2 separate regions of the Homo sapiens genome follow, and region 2 is linked to region 1. The links are contacts of gene promoters, found by promoter capture Hi-C in human tissues and cell types (Jung and others, 2019). All regions are on one chromosome and are shown on one strand. Each heading gives the region's core, a stretch centred on a gene start or on the middle of the fragment in contact. The rest is flanking DNA. Distances are from core to core; before and after follow the strand shown. Region 1 holds the start of SERPINF2 (serpin family F member 2). Region 2 overlaps SRR (serine racemase).

What was found. Contacts are between HindIII fragments. The study calls those that stand out against the background at their distance.
Region 2: a contact is called between a fragment that was not itself captured here and the fragment with the promoter of SERPINF2 in region 1, in 2 of the 25 tissues and cell types used here (dorsolateral prefrontal cortex and pancreas).

What each region holds. Positions count from the first base shown.
Region 1 is chr17:1,736,798-1,744,705 of GRCh38, forward strand. It overlaps SERPINF2 (serpin family F member 2), which reads left to right and starts at 6,074. Exons shown (of 10, transcript NM_000934.4): 1 at 6,074-6,111. WDR81 (WD repeat domain 81) reads left to right here. Exons shown (of 10, transcript NM_001163809.2): 10 at 568-1,788. The coding sequence ends at 888. RefSeq lists a silencer at 1-132. The HindIII fragment of the contact is 23,738 bases long and covers 1-7,908 here.
Region 2 is chr17:2,316,016-2,323,923 of GRCh38, forward strand. SRR (serine racemase) reads left to right here. Exons shown (of 8, transcript NM_021947.3): 3 at 1,855-1,981; 4 at 2,811-2,914; 5 at 5,291-5,410; 6 at 5,527-5,601; 7 at 7,121-7,330; 8 at 7,640-7,908. The coding sequence ends at 7,858. It overlaps TSR1 (TSR1 ribosome maturation factor), which reads right to left. Exons shown (of 15, transcript NM_018128.5): 15 at 6,381-7,908. Among named protein-coding and RNA genes, the nearest start is that of SNORD91B, 9.2 kb to the right of the region's middle. The HindIII fragment of the contact is 6,003 bases long and covers 1-4,698 here.

The DNA of each region.
Region 1 (7,908 bases), core at 4,824-7,323:
CTGCAGGCAGCTGGGACTTTCCTCCCCAGCTTGGCTGGAGGCCAGGAGTCTTGCATTGCCCTGCTGACAGCAGGCTGTCGCTGGCTCCCTCCAGAGCCCCAGGGAACCCTCAGCTCAAGGTGCCCCCAAATTCTAACTTTCCAAGAAAGTGTCAGGAGGGCTCTGGGGTCAGCCTGGGTGTTAATCCCAGCTCTGCTGCTTGCTGGCCCCATGACCTTGGTATGGTTACTTCACTTCTCTGAGCCTCACTTTTCCTGTTTGTGAAATGGGGACAATGGCAGCATCCACCGCATAGGGTTGTTACGAAGGTCAAGGTCGTCACGTGCACGCCTGGCACCATGCCTGTGCGTAGTTCTCAAGTTAGAGTGACGACTGGGTTACGGATGCTGAGCGTATTAAAATGAACCAACGTGAATATGGTGTGTGTGGGAGGGTGGCGGCTTGTCACCCACCCAGGACGGCCTGTCTCCCTGGAGAGAAACTGCGGAGGGAACTGGGAAGGCCTTGGGGCCCAAGGGTATGCAGAAGGACCCAGGCTCCTGCTGAGGCTCTCCTCTCCCGGGACAGGCGGTGGAGGGCAGCGTCCTGGTCAGCTCCTCCTCTGACCATTCCTTGACCGTCTGGAAGGAGCTGGAGCAGAAGCCCACCCATCACTACAAGTCAGCATCCGACCCCATCCACACCTTTGACCTGTACGGCAGCGAGGTGGTCACTGGCACCGTGTCCAACAAGATTGGCGTCTGCTCCCTGCTTGAGCCACCCTCGCAGGCCACCACGAAGCTCAGCTCTGAGAACTTCCGCGGCACGCTCACCAGCCTGGCCTTGCTGCCCACTAAACGCCACCTCCTGCTGGGCTCAGACAACGGGGTTATCCGCCTCCTGGCATAGACTGAGGCAGGAGCTGGCCGGGCAAGGGTGGGAAGACATCTGCGGGCGCGTGTCCACTCACCCTGTTCCCTGAGCAGCAGCTCCCTCCAGGGAGGCCCTGGGTCCCACGCCCTGGGTGCCCACATGGCCTGCCAACTAGGGCCTGCAAATGGAGTGGGGGAGTCCTGGCCCCTGAATCACCAGAGCCACCAAGCCTGCCAGAGGGGTCTCATTCATGGCTTGGGGACACAGGGCTCCTAGCAAGCAGGAAGTTAAGAGCAGGAGGAAGCGTTGCTACCTTCACTTCTCCCCAGCTCTGCCCTCTGGGTCCACATGAGGACAGGGAAGCTCGGGAAGGGGAAGGGAGACTGGCCCTGCCCAGCCGGTCTCTAGCCCCTCAGCCCCCGCTGGGCACTCTCTGTCCCATCCCTCTAGGACAGGGAAGCTGGCCTGGTCCAGGGCACTGATGGTGCTTGGATTCCAGCCTAAGGAAGGCTGGCCGTGGTCCAGGAGTTAAGGGCTTGGGTCTGGGGTTTAAGTGGCCACCCATCCAGGCCCTGGCCAGTGTGGGACCGGGACGGGAAGGAAGAAGGAGGCTAGGAGCAGGGGGAAAAGGTGCACTTGGCCAGTGGCGCCTGCCAGGAGTGAGTCCATGCGTTGTCTGCCCACCCCTACCACAGTGTTTGTGCCTTCAGCTGAGGGGGCAGCCTCTGGGCCCTGAACCCCTGCTGGGGCTCCACGACCCTGAGAGAAGGGGTGAGAAGAATCATCTCTGCACCTCGGGTCTCTGCCAGAGGAAGACTTAAGCATCCCTGCGACCTCACATTCTAGACAGAGATGAGGTCCAGGGGTTGGCCCCTGCTGCCTTCTCACAATTTGCAATAGATGTAAATAGGACCAATAAATCCTTTGGAAGAGCCATGGGGTGAACTGAGGCTTGTCTTTTTTTTTTTTTTCAATAGAGATGGAGTCTGACTATGTTGCCCAAGCTGGTCTCCAACTCCTGGGCTCAAGCGATCCTCCTGCCTCGGCCTCCCAAAGTGTTGGGATTACAGGCATGAGCCACCACGCCCAGCCTGAGGCTTATCTTGCTGGTGGTGTCAGGGTGGGGAAAGTCGAGACCCAGCAGTTTCCAGGACAGTGAGGGTGGGAAGGGGCCTGATGGAGGGAGTGAGGAGCAGGACAGTGAGGGTAGGAGGCGGCCTGATGCAGGGAGTGAGGCGCAGGACAGTGAGGGTGGGAAGGAGCCTGATGCAGGGAGTGAGGCGCAGGACAGTGAGGGTGGGAAGGAGCCTGATGCAGGGAGTGAGGCGCAGGACAGTGAGGGTGGGAAGGAGCCTGATGCAGGGAGTGAGGCGCAGGACAGTGAGGGTGGGAAGGAGCCTGATGCAGGGAGTGAGGCGCAGGACAGTGAGGGTGGGAAGGAGCCTGATGCAGGGAGTGAGGCGCAGGACAGTGAGGGTGGGAAGGAGCCTGATGCAGGGAGTGAGGCGCAGGACAGTGAGGGTGGGAAGGAGCCTGATGCAGGGAGTGAGGAGCCGGACAGTGAGGGTGGGAGGCGGCCTGATGCAGGGAGTGAGGCGCAGGACAGTGAGGGTGGGAAGGAGCCTGATGCAGGGAGTGAGGCGCAGGACAGTGAGGGTGGGAAGGAGCCTGATGCAGGGAGTGAGGAGCAGGACAGTGAGGGTGGGAAGGAGCCTGATGCAGGGAGTGAGGAGCCGGACAGTGAGGGTGGGAAGGAGCCTGATGCAGGGAGTGAGGAGCAGGACAGTGAGGGTGGGAAGTGGCCTGATGCAGGGAGTGAGGAGCAGGTGTGAGGGCGGGAAGCGGCCTGATGCAGGGAGTGAGGCGCAGGACAGTGAGGGTGGGAAGGAGCCTGATGCAGGGAGTGAGGCGCAGGACAGTGAGGGTGGGAAGGAGCCTGATGCAGGGAGTGAGGCGCAGGACAGTGAGGGTGGGAAGGAGCCTGATGCAGGGAGTGAGGAGCAGGACAGTGAGGGTGGGAAGTGGCCTGATGCAGGGAGTGAGGCGCAGGACAGTGAGGGTGGGAGGCGGCCTGATGCAGGGAGTGAGGCGCAGGACAGTGAGGGTGGGAAGGAGCCTGATGCAGGGAGTGAGGCGCAGGACAGTGAGGGTGGGAAGGGGCCTGATGCAGGGAGTGAGGCGCAGGACAGTGAGGGTGGGAAGGAGCCTGATGCAGGGAGTGAGGAGCCGGACAGTGAGGGTGGGAAGGAGCCTGATGCAGGGAGTGAGGAGCAGGACAGTGAGGGTGGGAGGTGGCCTGATGCAGGGAGTGAGGAGCCGGACAGTGAGGGTGGGAAGGAGCCTGATGCAGGGAGTGAGGCGCAGGACAGTGAGGGTGGGAGGCGGCCTGATGCAGGGAGTGAGGCGCAGGACAGTGAGGGTGGGAAGGAGCCTGATGCAGGGAGTGAGGAGCAGGACAGTGAGGGTGGGAGGCGGCCTGATGCAGGGAGTGAGGCGCAGGACAGTGAGGGTGGGAAGGAGCCTGATGCAGGGAGTGAGGCGCAGGACAGTGAGGGTGGGAAGGAGCCTGATGCAGGGAGTGAGGCACAGGACAGTGAGGGTGGGAAGTGGCCTGATGCAGGGAGTGAGGCGCAGGACAGTGAGGGTGGGAAGGAGCCTGATGCAGGGAGTGAGGAGCCGGACAGTGAGGGTGGGAAGGAGCCTGATGCAGGGAGTGAGGCGCAGGACAGTGAGGGTGGGAAGGGGCCTGATGCAGGGAGTGAGGCGCAGGACAGTGAGGGTGGGAAGGAGCCTGATGCAGGGAGTGAGGAGCAGGACAGTGAGGGTGGGAGGCGGCCTGATGCAGGGAGTGAGGAGCCGGACAGTGAGGGTGGGAAGGAGCCTGATGCAGGGAGTGAGGAGCCGGACAGTGAGGGTGGGAAGGAGCCTGATGCAGGGAGTGAGGCGCAGGACAGTGAGGGTGGGAGGCGGCCTGATGCAGGGAGTGAGGCGCAGGACAGTGAGGGTGGGAAGGAGCCTGATGCAGGGAGTGAGGAGCAGGACAGTCAGGGTGGGAGGCGGCCTGATGCAGGGAGTGAGGCGCAGGACAGTGAGGGTGGGAAGGAGCCTGATGCAGGGAGTGAGGCGCAGGACAGTGAGGGTGGGAAGGAGCCTGATGCAGGGAGTGAGGCGCAGGACAGTGAGGGTGGGAAGTGGCCTGATGCAGGGAGTGAGGCGCAGGACAGTGAGGGTGGGAAGTGGCCTGATGCAGGGAGTGAGGCGCAGGACAGTGAGGGTGGGAAGGGGCCTGATGCAGGGAGTGAGGCGCAGGACAGTGAGGGTGGGAAGGGGCCTGATGCAGGGAGTGAGGAGCCGGACAGTGAGGGTGGGAAGGAGCCTGATGCAGGGAGTGAGGCGCAGGACAGTGAGGGTGGGAAGGGGCCTGATGCAGGGAGTGAGGCGCAGGACAGTGAGGGTGGGAAGGGGCCTGATGCAGGGAGTGAGGAGCCGGACACTGAGGGTGGGAAGGAGCCTGATGCAGGGAGTGAGGCGCAGGACAGTGAGGGTGGGAAGGGGCCTGATGCAGGGAGTGAGGCGCAGGACAGTGAGGGTGGGAAGGGGCCTGATGCAGGGAGTGAGGAGCCGGACAGTGAGGGTGGGAAGGAGCCTGATGCAGGGAGTGAGGCGCAGGACAGTGAAGGTGGGAAGGGGCCTGATGCAGGGAGTGAGGCGCAAGACAGTGAGGGTGGGAAGGAGCCTGATGCAGGGAGTGAGGCGCAGGACAGTGAGGGTGGGAAGGAGCCTGATGCAGGGAGTGAGGAGCAGGACAGTGAAGGTGGGAAGGAGCCTGATGCAGGGAGTGAGGAGCCGGACAGTGAGGGTGGGAAGGAGCCTGATGCAGGGAGTGAGGAGCTGGACAGTGAGGATGGGAAGGAGCCTGATGCAGGGAGTGAGGAGCAGGACAGTGAGGGTGGGAAGTGGCCTGATGCAGGGAGTGAGGCGCAGGACAGTGAGGGTGGGAAGGAGCCTGATGCAGGGAGTGAGGAGCAGGACAGTGAGGGTGGGAGGCGGCCTGATGCAGGGAGTGAGGAGCCGGACAGTGAGGGTGGGAGGCGGCCTGATGCAGGGAGTGAGGAGCAGGACAGTGAGGGTGGGAAGTGGCCCGATGCAGGGAGTGAGGCGCAGGACAGTGAGGGTGGGAAGGAGCCTGATGCAGGGAGTGAGGAGCCGGACAGTGAGGGTGGGAAGGAGCCTGATGCAGGGAGTGAGGAGCCGGACAGTGAGGGTGGGAAGGAGCCTGATGCAGGGAGTGAGGAGCAGGTGTGAGGGCGGGAAGCGGCCTGATGCAGGGAGTGAGGAGCAGGACAGTGAGGGTGGGAAGGGGCCTGATACAGGGAGTGAGGAGCAGGACAGTGAGGGTGGGAAGGAGCCTGATGCAGGGAGTGAGGAGCCGGACAGTGAGGGTGGGAAGCAGCCTGATCTTTGCACGGGCTGCCAGGCTTCTGGTTCATACAGCCCCAGGTCAGTTTCCAGAACCCTCGCTCTTGGGTAGGGGAAAGAGACATTGCTCTGGAGTGGCAGGACGGTGGGAGAAGTTGAGTCCCTCTCATTTCTCCTCCCTCACCCCCTGCCTTCCATCCCAGTCTGAAGGCAGCCAACCTGATCCTGGGCTTGGAAGGTTGGGGGTGGGCTTCCTATCCTGGGCTCTCTGCATAGGCTCTTGTGGCTTCCCCTTTCCTCCCCTCAGGAGCGGGAGGCAGCTCTCTGGGAGAAGAAAGGACATTGGGAGTGAGAATCTGGATGTGCCTCAGCCCAGCTCTGTGTCCTTGGGCAGGTCACATGGCCTCTCTGAGCCTGGCTGAACCAGGGATAATCCACACCTCGTGGGGTCTCTGGAAGGCTTAACACAGTGCTAGGTTCCTGTGCTTTCTGGATCCGCCCTCTTGGCTAGCCAGATCCAGTCTCTTCAACTCTCTCCTCCTGAACTTTCTCTTTCCAGGCTCGGGGGGGGGGACCCAAATATAGGGGGTTCTGCGTGGCTGCCTCAGGGTTAGATGCCCTGGTGGGAAAGGGGCTTCTGGCTTCAAGATCAATGTTTAACTGGATGTGCAAGTCAATATTTACCAGAAGAGAAAGCAATCTGAACAGGGGTTGGCTGAGAGTAAAGGTCCTGGTGGGAGGGGAGGGGTGGGCTGGGCCAGCTGGAGCCTGGGCAGAGAGTGAGGAGCACCCAAGTGGGGCCAGAGGAACGTTGTGTGTGGCAGCAAGGAGCCCGCAGAGGTATGAGGGGAGGGGCTGCTCGGCCTGCTCCTTGGGTAGGAGAGGAGGAGGGAGCTGCCTCCCTGGCTGAGGGGTCTGGGATTTATTCAGGAGGCCTGTCACTCCCCAGCCTCTTCTGGGACTTGAAAAACTGGAGCCTGTTCTTGGCAAGAAGATTCTAATGCCCAGGTCGGAGTCGGGGCCCTGGCCAAGGGCTCTTGTGTGGGATGGGGGTGGGGCCGGGGGGACCAAAGGATCCTCCAGAAGGGTTGGCCCCAAGATGGGGGTGGGCTGGAGGTAGCTGAGACCTGCTCTGACTTATCCTCCTGAGACCAACACCTGCCCTTCCCAGAGCCAGCCTGGAGCAGAGGCCTGTGATGCTCCTAAGTGCAGAGGTGGCTCTGGCCAGAGTCATTCACTGGGCTCTGCTGCTGGGTCAAAAGGCAGCTCTCTGGCTGCCTTGCCACCCATGGTGAGACCTCAGGGCCTCACAGGTATGTCCAGCCTTGTGGGCAAGACCTGACCAGCCTGAGAAAGACGGGTTGGGGCCAGGCGTGGTGGCTCATGCCTGTCATCCCAGCACTTTGGGAGGCTGAGGCAGGTGGATCACCTGAGGTCAGGAGTTCGAGACCAGCCTGACCAACATGGAGAAACCCTGTCTCTACTAAAAATACAAAATTAGCCAGGCATGGTGGCACATGCCTGTAATCCCAGCTACTCGGGAGGCTGAGGCAGGAGAATCGCTTTAACCCAGGAGGTGGAGGTTGCAGTGAGCCGAGATCGTGCCATTGCACTCCAGCCTGCATGATAAGAATGAAACTCCATCTCAAAAAAAAAAAAAAAAAAAAAAAAGACAGGCTAAATGGATGCAGCAGGCTGGGTAGGAGCTCTGTGTTGGAGCTCTGCGGTGGAGGCTTCAGGGCAGGCTTCCCAGAAGAGGTGGCCTTGAGCCAAGCTGACCCCAGCCATCGGGGGAGTGCCAAGCATTGTACTCAGGGTTTACAAAGATGGTCTTATTTATTTTTTTGAGACAGAGTCTTGCTCTGTCGCCCAGGCTGGAGTGCAGTGGCGTGATCTCGGCTCACTGCAACCTCCGCCTCCCGGGTTCAAGCAGTTCTCTGCCTCAGCCTCCCGAGTAGCTGGGATTACAGGGGCCCACCACCACGCCTGGCTAATTTTGTATTTTCAGTAGAGATGGGGTTTTACCATGTTGGCCAGGCTGGTCTTGAACTCCCGACCTCAGGTGATCCACCTGCCCCTGGCCTCCCAAAGTGCTGGGATTACAGGCTTGAGCCACCGTGCCTGGCCACAAAGATGGTCTTTTGCCGGGTGCAGTGGCTCATGCCTGTAATCCCAGTACTTTGGGAGGCCGAGGCAGGAGGATCACCTGAGGTCGGGAGTTTAAGACCAGCCTGACTAACACAGAGAAACCCCGTTTCTACTAAGAAATACAGAATTAGCCAGGCGTGGTGGTGCATGCCTGTAATCCCAGCTATTCGGGAGGCTGAAGCAGGAGAATCGCTTGAACCTGGGAGGTGGAGGTTGCGGTGAGCCGAGATCCTGCCACTGCACTCCAGCCTGGTCAACGAGAGCGAAACTCCGTCTCAAAAAATAAACAACAAAAAATCCCAAAAAGACGGTCTTATTTTGGTCCTCACCATGCATGTGAGAAGAGTGAGGGACTTGTGCCACCGTTTTACAAGGTAAGGCCAAGCCTGGTGGAGTTACGGGAAATGCCGAGGTCCTTTGGCAAGAGGTAGCCTGGATTCAGACACAGATCTGATTCACAGCGCAGGGCCTTGTAGAATGAGAACGTTT
Region 2 (7,908 bases), core at 447-2,946, 570 kb after region 1:
ATACAGTCATATGCCACATAACGTTTCAGTCAATGACAGACCACCTATATGATGGTGGTCCTTGGTCCCATAAGGTTATACCACACATTTACTGTACGATTTCTGTGTTTAGATACAGAAATACTTCTCATTGTGTTATAGCTGCCTACAGTATTCAGTACAGTAACATGCTATACAGGGTTTGCAGCCTAGGAGTAATAGGCTGTAACAGCTGGATTTGTATAAGTACACTCTATGGTGCATGCAAGATGATGAAATTGCCAAATCATGCATTTCTCGAAACATATCCCCATCCTTAAGCAAAGCATGACTTTATTATATATACCATCACTTACTGTCCAAACTAAGACATAATTTATTATCCAAACTAGGACATGTTTGGGACTGAAAGAAGCAACCTGAAATATCTAAACAGACACCTGAACTGTTGCAGGCAAATTGGAAAGTGTTATCACTCTGTATATGACCCAAGTTTAAGCATTCACTGTATCAACTTGCTACACATGGATACATTATCAATATAAAAGATCTAAGCCTGGGCCACACGGCAAAACTCTGTCTACAAAAAATACAAATATATGACAGGCGCAGTGGTTCACACTTGTAATCCCAGCACTTTGGGAGGCTGAGGCAGGTGGATCACCTGAGGTCAGGAGTTCGACACCAGCCTGACCAACATGATGAAACGCTTTTTTGTTTTGTTTTGTTTTGTTTTGAGACGGAGTCTCACTCTGTCCCCCAGGCTGGAGTGCAGTGGCACGATCTCGGCTCACTGTAAGCTCCACCTCCCAGGTTCACGCCATTCTCCTGCCTCAGCCACCCGATTACCTGGGACTACAGGCGCCTGCCACCACGCCCAGCTAATTTTTTTTTTTTTTTTTTTGAATTTTTAGTAGAGACAGGGTTTCACCGTGTTAGCCAGGATGTTCTTGATCTGACCTTGTGATCCGCCCGCCTCTGCCTCCCAAAGTGCTGGGATTACTGGCATGAGTCACCGCACCCAGCCTTGGTGAAACACTTTCTACTAAAAATACAAAATGAGCGGGACTTGGTGCCAGGCACCTGTAATCCCAGCTGCTTGGGAGGCTGAGGCAGGAGAATTGCTTGAACCCAGAAGGCAGAGGTTGCAGTGAGTTGAGATCACGCCATTGCACTCCACCATGGGTGATAGAGGAAGACTCCATCTCGGGGGAAAAAAAAAAAAAAAAAAAAAAGGCCGGGTGCGGTGGCTCACGCCTGTAATCCCAGCACTTTGGGAGGCTGAGGCAGGCGGATAACGAGGTCAAAAGATCGAGACCATCCTGGCTAACACGGGGAAACCCCGTCGCTACTAAAAATACAAAAAAATTAGCCGGGCGTGGTGGCGGGCGCCTGCAGACCCGGCTACTCGAGAAGCTGAGGCAGGAGAATGGCGTGAACCCGGGAGGCGGAGCTTGCAGTGAGCCGAGATCGCGCCACTGCACTGCAGCCCGGGCTACAACAGAGCGAGACTAGGTCTAAAAAAATAAAAAAAAAAAATTTAGCCGGGCATGGTGGCAGGTGCCTATAATCCCAGCTACTTGGGAGGCTGAGGCAGGAAAATCACTTGAACCCGGCCCTGGGGGTAGACGCAGTGTGGGGAGGCGGACGTTGCAGTAAGCCGAGATCGTGGCACTGCACTCCAGCCGGGATAACGGAGACTCCATCTCAAAAAAATAAAAAATAAAGATGCACATGAGATATTTAAGAGGTAAATCGATAAGATTTGGTGACAGATTGGATGTGCATGTTAAGGATAGAAAATCTAGAAAAGCTCCTTGCTTTCCAAAACAATGTTTTAATCAAATATGTGAATTCACCATCCCTCTTTTTCAGATTCGTGGTGCTCTCAATGCCGTCAGAAGCTTGGTTCCTGATGCTTTAGAAAGGAAGCCGAAAGCTGTTGTTACTCACAGCAGTGGAAACCATGGCCAGGCTCTCACCTATGCTGCCAAATTGGAAGGTACTTGATTTCTCAAGGTACTGGGTAGATCTTCAGAAAGGAGTGGAAAAGTGCCCTTAATTTCAGTGAGAGTGATGATAGCTGTGGGAAGTAACTTTCCAAAGAAATCTCTATCTGATTGCAAGCAATATGAACATAAGTTTTTTTTTTGTTTGTTTTGTTTTTTTGAAGACAGAATCTTGCTGTCACCCAGGCTGGAGAGCGGTGACGCGATCTCGGCTCACTGTAACCTCCACCTGCCGGGTTCAAGCGATTCTCCTGCCTCAGCCTCCTGAGTAGCTGGGACTACAGGTGCGCACCACCACGCCTGGCTAATTTTTTCTATTTTACAAATACAAAATACTAATTTCACCATGTTGCCCAGGCTGGTCTCGAACTCCTGGGCTCAAGCAATCCACCCGCCTTGGCCTCCCAAAGTCCTAGGATTACAGGCGTGAGCCACCACACCTGGCTGAACATGTTTCTTTCTTTTTTTTTTTTTTTTTTGAGACGGAGTCTTGCACTGTCGCCCAGGCTGGAATGCAGTGGCAGGATCTCGGCTCACTGCAAGCTCCACCTCCCGGGTTCACACCATTGTCCTGCCTCAGCCTGGGACTACAGGAGCCTGCCACCATGCCTGGCTATTTTTTTTTTTTTTTTTTTTTTTTGTATTTTTAGTAAAGACAGGGTTTCACCGTGTTAGCCAGGATGGTCTCAATTTCCTGACCTTGTGATCCGCCTGCCTCAGCCTCCCAAAGTGCTGGGATTACAGGTGTGACCCACCGTGCCTGGCCACATAAGTTTCTATTCTAAATTCTCCTGACTTTTTCCTCTCGTTTTCCTCTCCCAGGAATTCCTGCTTATATTGTGGTGCCCCAGACAGCTCCAGACTGTAAAAAACTTGCAATACAAGCCTACGGAGCGTCAATTGTATACTGTGAACCTAGTGATGAGGTAAGGAGAGCAGTGCTTGGTACCACCTTAACAGCTTTCATTTGACCAATGGCTCTTTCTACCTTACTGGCTGCTCCTTCTCAGCCTCCTTTGTGGTTTCCCCTTTATTTCTGTTAGCATGCTCAACCTTTTCTCTATCTACACTCACAAGATCTCATTAGTCTCATTTCTTAAATTATTACCTATGGTCTAACAACACCAACTCCAACTTCTCTCCCTTTAACAGCCAACTTTTATATAACAGCTACCTAACTTTCCCACTTGATGTCTTAAAAGGCATCTCAAACTACAGCTAAAACCAAACTCCTGATCTTACTTCCCTATATTGCTTCCCTTCCAGTCTTCCTCATCTTAGTAAATGGCAATTTTTATTCTTCTAGTTACTCAAAAAAAAGTTGGAGTCATCTTTTTTTGAAAATTTTTTGTTGTTGTTGTTAAAGATGGACTCTTTCTATGTTGTGGGATCCTTCTGCCTCAGCCTGTTGAGTAGCTAGGACTACAGGTGCATGCCACCACACCTAATTCCTTTATTTTTTGTAGACAGGGTCTCACTGTTGCCCAGGCTGGTCTCAAACTCCTGGATTCAAGCAGTCCTCCCACCTTGGCCTCCCAAAATGCTGGGATCACAGGCATGACCCACTGCACACAGCCAGGAATCCTCTCTGATAACCCTCTCATACCCCACATCCAAATCTCAGTCTGCTTTCAACATATTTCCATAACCCAACTGCTTCTGTGTCTACCGTTAGCACTCTGATTCAAACCAACATCAATTCTCACCTATATTCAATTCAGTAGCCAAACTGGTCTCTCTGCATCCACCCTTGCCACACTACAGGCTTTTTTGAGCAACCAGAGGTCTCCATTTAATAAAGTCAGAACTTGTCTCTTCTTTTTTTTTTTTTTTGAGGCGGAGTCTTGCTCTGTCGCCCAAGCTGGAGTGCAGTGGTGCCATCTTGGCTCACTGCAAGCCCCGCCTCCTGGGTTCCAGCGATTCTCTTGCCTCAGCCTCCCGAGTAGCTGGGACTACAGGCGCCTGCCACCATGCCCAGCTAATTTTTTCTATTTTTAGTAGAGACGGGGTTTCACTGTGTTAGCCAGGATGGTCTCGATCTCCTGACCTCGTGATCCACCCACCTCGGCCTCCCAAAGTGCTGGGATTACAGGCGTGAGCCACCACGCCTGGCCAGAACTTGTCTCTTTTCAAGTCTAAATCCTCTGTTGGTTTCCCATCTCATACACGGTGGAAACGAGAGTTCTTGCAATCATCTAATCCCTGGATAAACTCAAACATTCCTATCTTTCTGACCTCATCTCTCATCTTTTTTTTTTTTTTTTTTTTTTTTTAGACAGAATCTCCCCGTCTCCCAGGCTGGAGTGCAGCGGCACAATCTCGGCTCACTGCAACCTCCGCCTCCTGGGTTCAAGCGATTCTTCTGCCTCAGCCTCCCGAGTAGCTGGGACTACAGGCGCGTGCCACCATGCCCAGCTAATTTTTGATTCTTTAGTACAGACAGGGTTTCACCATATTGGCCAGGCTGGTCTCGAACTCCTGACCTCGTGATCTGCCCGCCTTGGCCTCCCAAAGTGCTGGGATTACAAGTGTGAGCCACCGTGCCTGGTCCCTCATCTTCTTTTTATTTATTTTGAGACAGGGTCTCACTCTGTCCAACCCAGGCTGGAGTGCGGTAGTTTCTTCTCAGCTCCCTGCAGCCTCCGCTTCCTGGGTTCAAGAGATTCTCATGCCTCAGCCACCAGAGTAGCTGGGATTACAGGCGCGTGCCACCACATCTGGCTAATTTTTGTATTTTTAGTAGAGACGGGGTTTTGCCGTGTTGGCAAGGCTGGTCTTGAACTCCTGACCTGAAGTGATCTGCCCACCTTGGCCTCCCAGAGTGCTGGGATTATAGGTGTCAGCCACTGCACCCAGCCTTGACCTCATCTTCTATTATTTCTCTTGCCCACTCTGTGCCAGCCATACTAACCTTTTTAGCTGTTCCTCAGAAAGGCCAAGCACTCCTACTTTGTAGTCTTTGCACTGTTACCCCCTCTCTGGAATATTCTAGACATCCACAGCACTTGTTCAGATCTTTTAAAATGTCACTTTACTAGAGGCTCTTCTTGGCTACCCTATATGAAATAAATTCCTTCATTTTACTCCATTGCACTTAGACATACCATATATTTACTTCATCCATCTCTACCATACAATATAACGTGCTTGAGGGCAGGGATATTTTATTAACATATATATCTCTAGTACCTGAACAAAGTGTGAAAAAAGTAGATGGTCAATAAAATGCTGAATGACCAAATGGAACTTGTTGGGGACTCTATTAAATACAAATCAATTAAGCTAAATTAATGTACTTTCAGTCCAGAGAAAATGTTGCAAAAAGAGTTACAGAAGAAACAGAAGGCATCATGGTACATCCCAACCAGGAGCCTGCAGTGATAGCTGGACAAGGGACAATTGCCCTGGAAGTGCTGAACCAGGTAAAATAGCTGAGTTCTTCCTGTTTAGCTACTGGTAAAGCTGTTGGGCTATATTCAATTATTTTATATGTATACATTAAATATAAAACTGCTTACAGTTTATATTTTCACTAAAGGTTCCTTTGGTGGATGCACTGGTGGTACCTGTAGGTGGAGGAGGAATGCTTGCTGGAATAGCAATTACAGTTAAGGTGAGCAGCTTCTGGAGGATTCCCTGCTTCAAGCAGAGGATTTACTTTACATCCTAAATGTTCTGTATACACGTGCTCAACATTCTGCACACATTACCATTCCTTCCCCTTATTCCTTTGGGACTTGAGATGAAGGCCCATCTCTGCCTCACTACTCTATTTACTATTATTATTATTTTTTGAGACAGATTCTCGCTGTTGCCCAGGCTGGAGTGCAGTGGCACGATCCTGGCCCACTGCAGCCTCCACCTCCCGGGTTCAAGCGATTCTCCTGTCTCAGCCTCCTGAGTAGCTGGGATTACAGGCATGAGCCACCACACCCCGCTAATTTTTTTGTATTTTTTTTAGTAGAGACAGGGTTTCACCATGTTGGTCAGGCTGGTCTTGAACTCCTGACCTTGCGATCCACCCGCCTTGGCCTCCCAAAGTGTTGGGATTACAGGCGTGAGCCACTGCGCCCGGCCTATTTATTATTTCTAATATTTTTATTTTTTTTAAGAGATGGGGTCTTGCTGTGTTGGCCAGGTTGGTCTGGAACTCCTGGGCTCAAGCAGTCCTTACTTTGGCCTCCCAAAGTGCTAGGATTACAGGTGTGAGCCACCGCACCCAGCCAACTCTCTTCTTAATCCATGACAATTTTACAGCACAAAAGCAGTTACAAGTGACACCATCATAGTCTTTTCCCTGAATTCCATGTCATCAAGCTACTATCCATACCAAGGGGCTACCCTTTTCTCAAATTACCAGGACAATCAGATGTGATCCAGGCAATGGAAGGCTAGTATCAGACATATAATTTATTTATAAAGTGCTTGAAGATATTTTCATTACATCCACAAAAGGGAAGGCTCTTACTTGGGCAGAAATGTATTACTTATTGTGCCTATTTTCTTTTTTTTTTTGAGACGGAGTCTCACTCTGTCACCCAGGCTGGAGTGCAGTGGCACGATCTTGGCTCACTGCAAGCTCCACCTCCCAGGTTCACGCCATTCTCCTGCCTCTGCCTCCCGAGTAGCTGGGACTACAGGTGCCTGCCACCATGCCTGGCTAGTTTTTTTTTGTTTTTTTTTTTTGTATTTTTAGTAGAGACGGGGTTTCACCGTGTTAGCCAGGATGGTCTTGATCTCCCTACCTCGTGATCCGCCCACCTCGGCCTCCCAAAGTGCTGGGATTACAGGCGTGAGCCACTGCGCCCCACCCCATTTTGGTGTGATCTCAGCTCACTGCAACCTACCCCTCCCAAGTTCAAGTGATTCTCCTACCTCAGCCTCTTGAGTAGCTGGGATTACAGGGGTCTGCCACCACGCCTGGCTGATTTTCCTATTTTTAGTTGACACTGCATTTCACCAGGTTGGCCAGGCTGGTCTTGAACTCCTGACCTCAGCTGATCCACCCGCCTCGGGCTCCCAAAGTGTTGGGATTACAGGTGTGAGCCACCACACCAGGCCCATATTTTCTTTTAGACATGCAGGCAATGTTGTGGTTTGTTGTTAAGATGTCTTAATATTCCTCTTCCCAGGCTCTGAAACCTAGTGTGAAGGTATATGCTGCTGAACCCTCAAATGCAGATGACTGCTACCAGTCCAAGCTGAAGGGGAAACTGATGCCCAATCTTTATCCTCCAGAAACCATAGCAGATGGTGTCAAATCCAGCATTGGCTTGAACACCTGGCCTATTATCAGGGACCTTGTGGATGATATCTTCACTGTCACAGAGGATGAAATTAAGGTGAGGCTCCAGCAAGAAAAGAAATAGCAAAGCATGGTGTAACTTCTTAGGCAGAAGAAACTTCCCTTAGGAGTAGCAAGTGACCCACGGGAACCTGACTAGGTAACTTCATGACATGGGAGGGTACCCTAGATGTATTAATGACAACCCTCTTGACAGAAGCAGAGTCAGAATTAAAGAAAAGCTTTGGGAAGCGTGTGTACACAGTGATAAGAAAATTCAAACTGGACACGTATTCTCATCTGAACTTTATAGGTAAACCAACTAGACTCCCCTTTCACTAATTCCTACTCCCTTCCATATCAACAGTGTGCAACCCAGCTGGTGTGGGAGAGGATGAAACTACTCATTGAACCTACAGCTGGTGTTGGAGTGGCTGCTGTGCTGTCTCAACATTTTCAAACTGTTTCCCCAGAAGTAAAGAACATTTGTATTGTGCTCAGTGGTGGAAATGTAGACTTAACCTCCTCCATAACTTGGGTGAAGCAGGCTGAAAGGCCAGCTTCTTATCAGTCTGTTTCTGTTTAATTTACAGAAAAGGAAATGGTGGGAATTCAGTGTCTTTAGATACTGAAGAC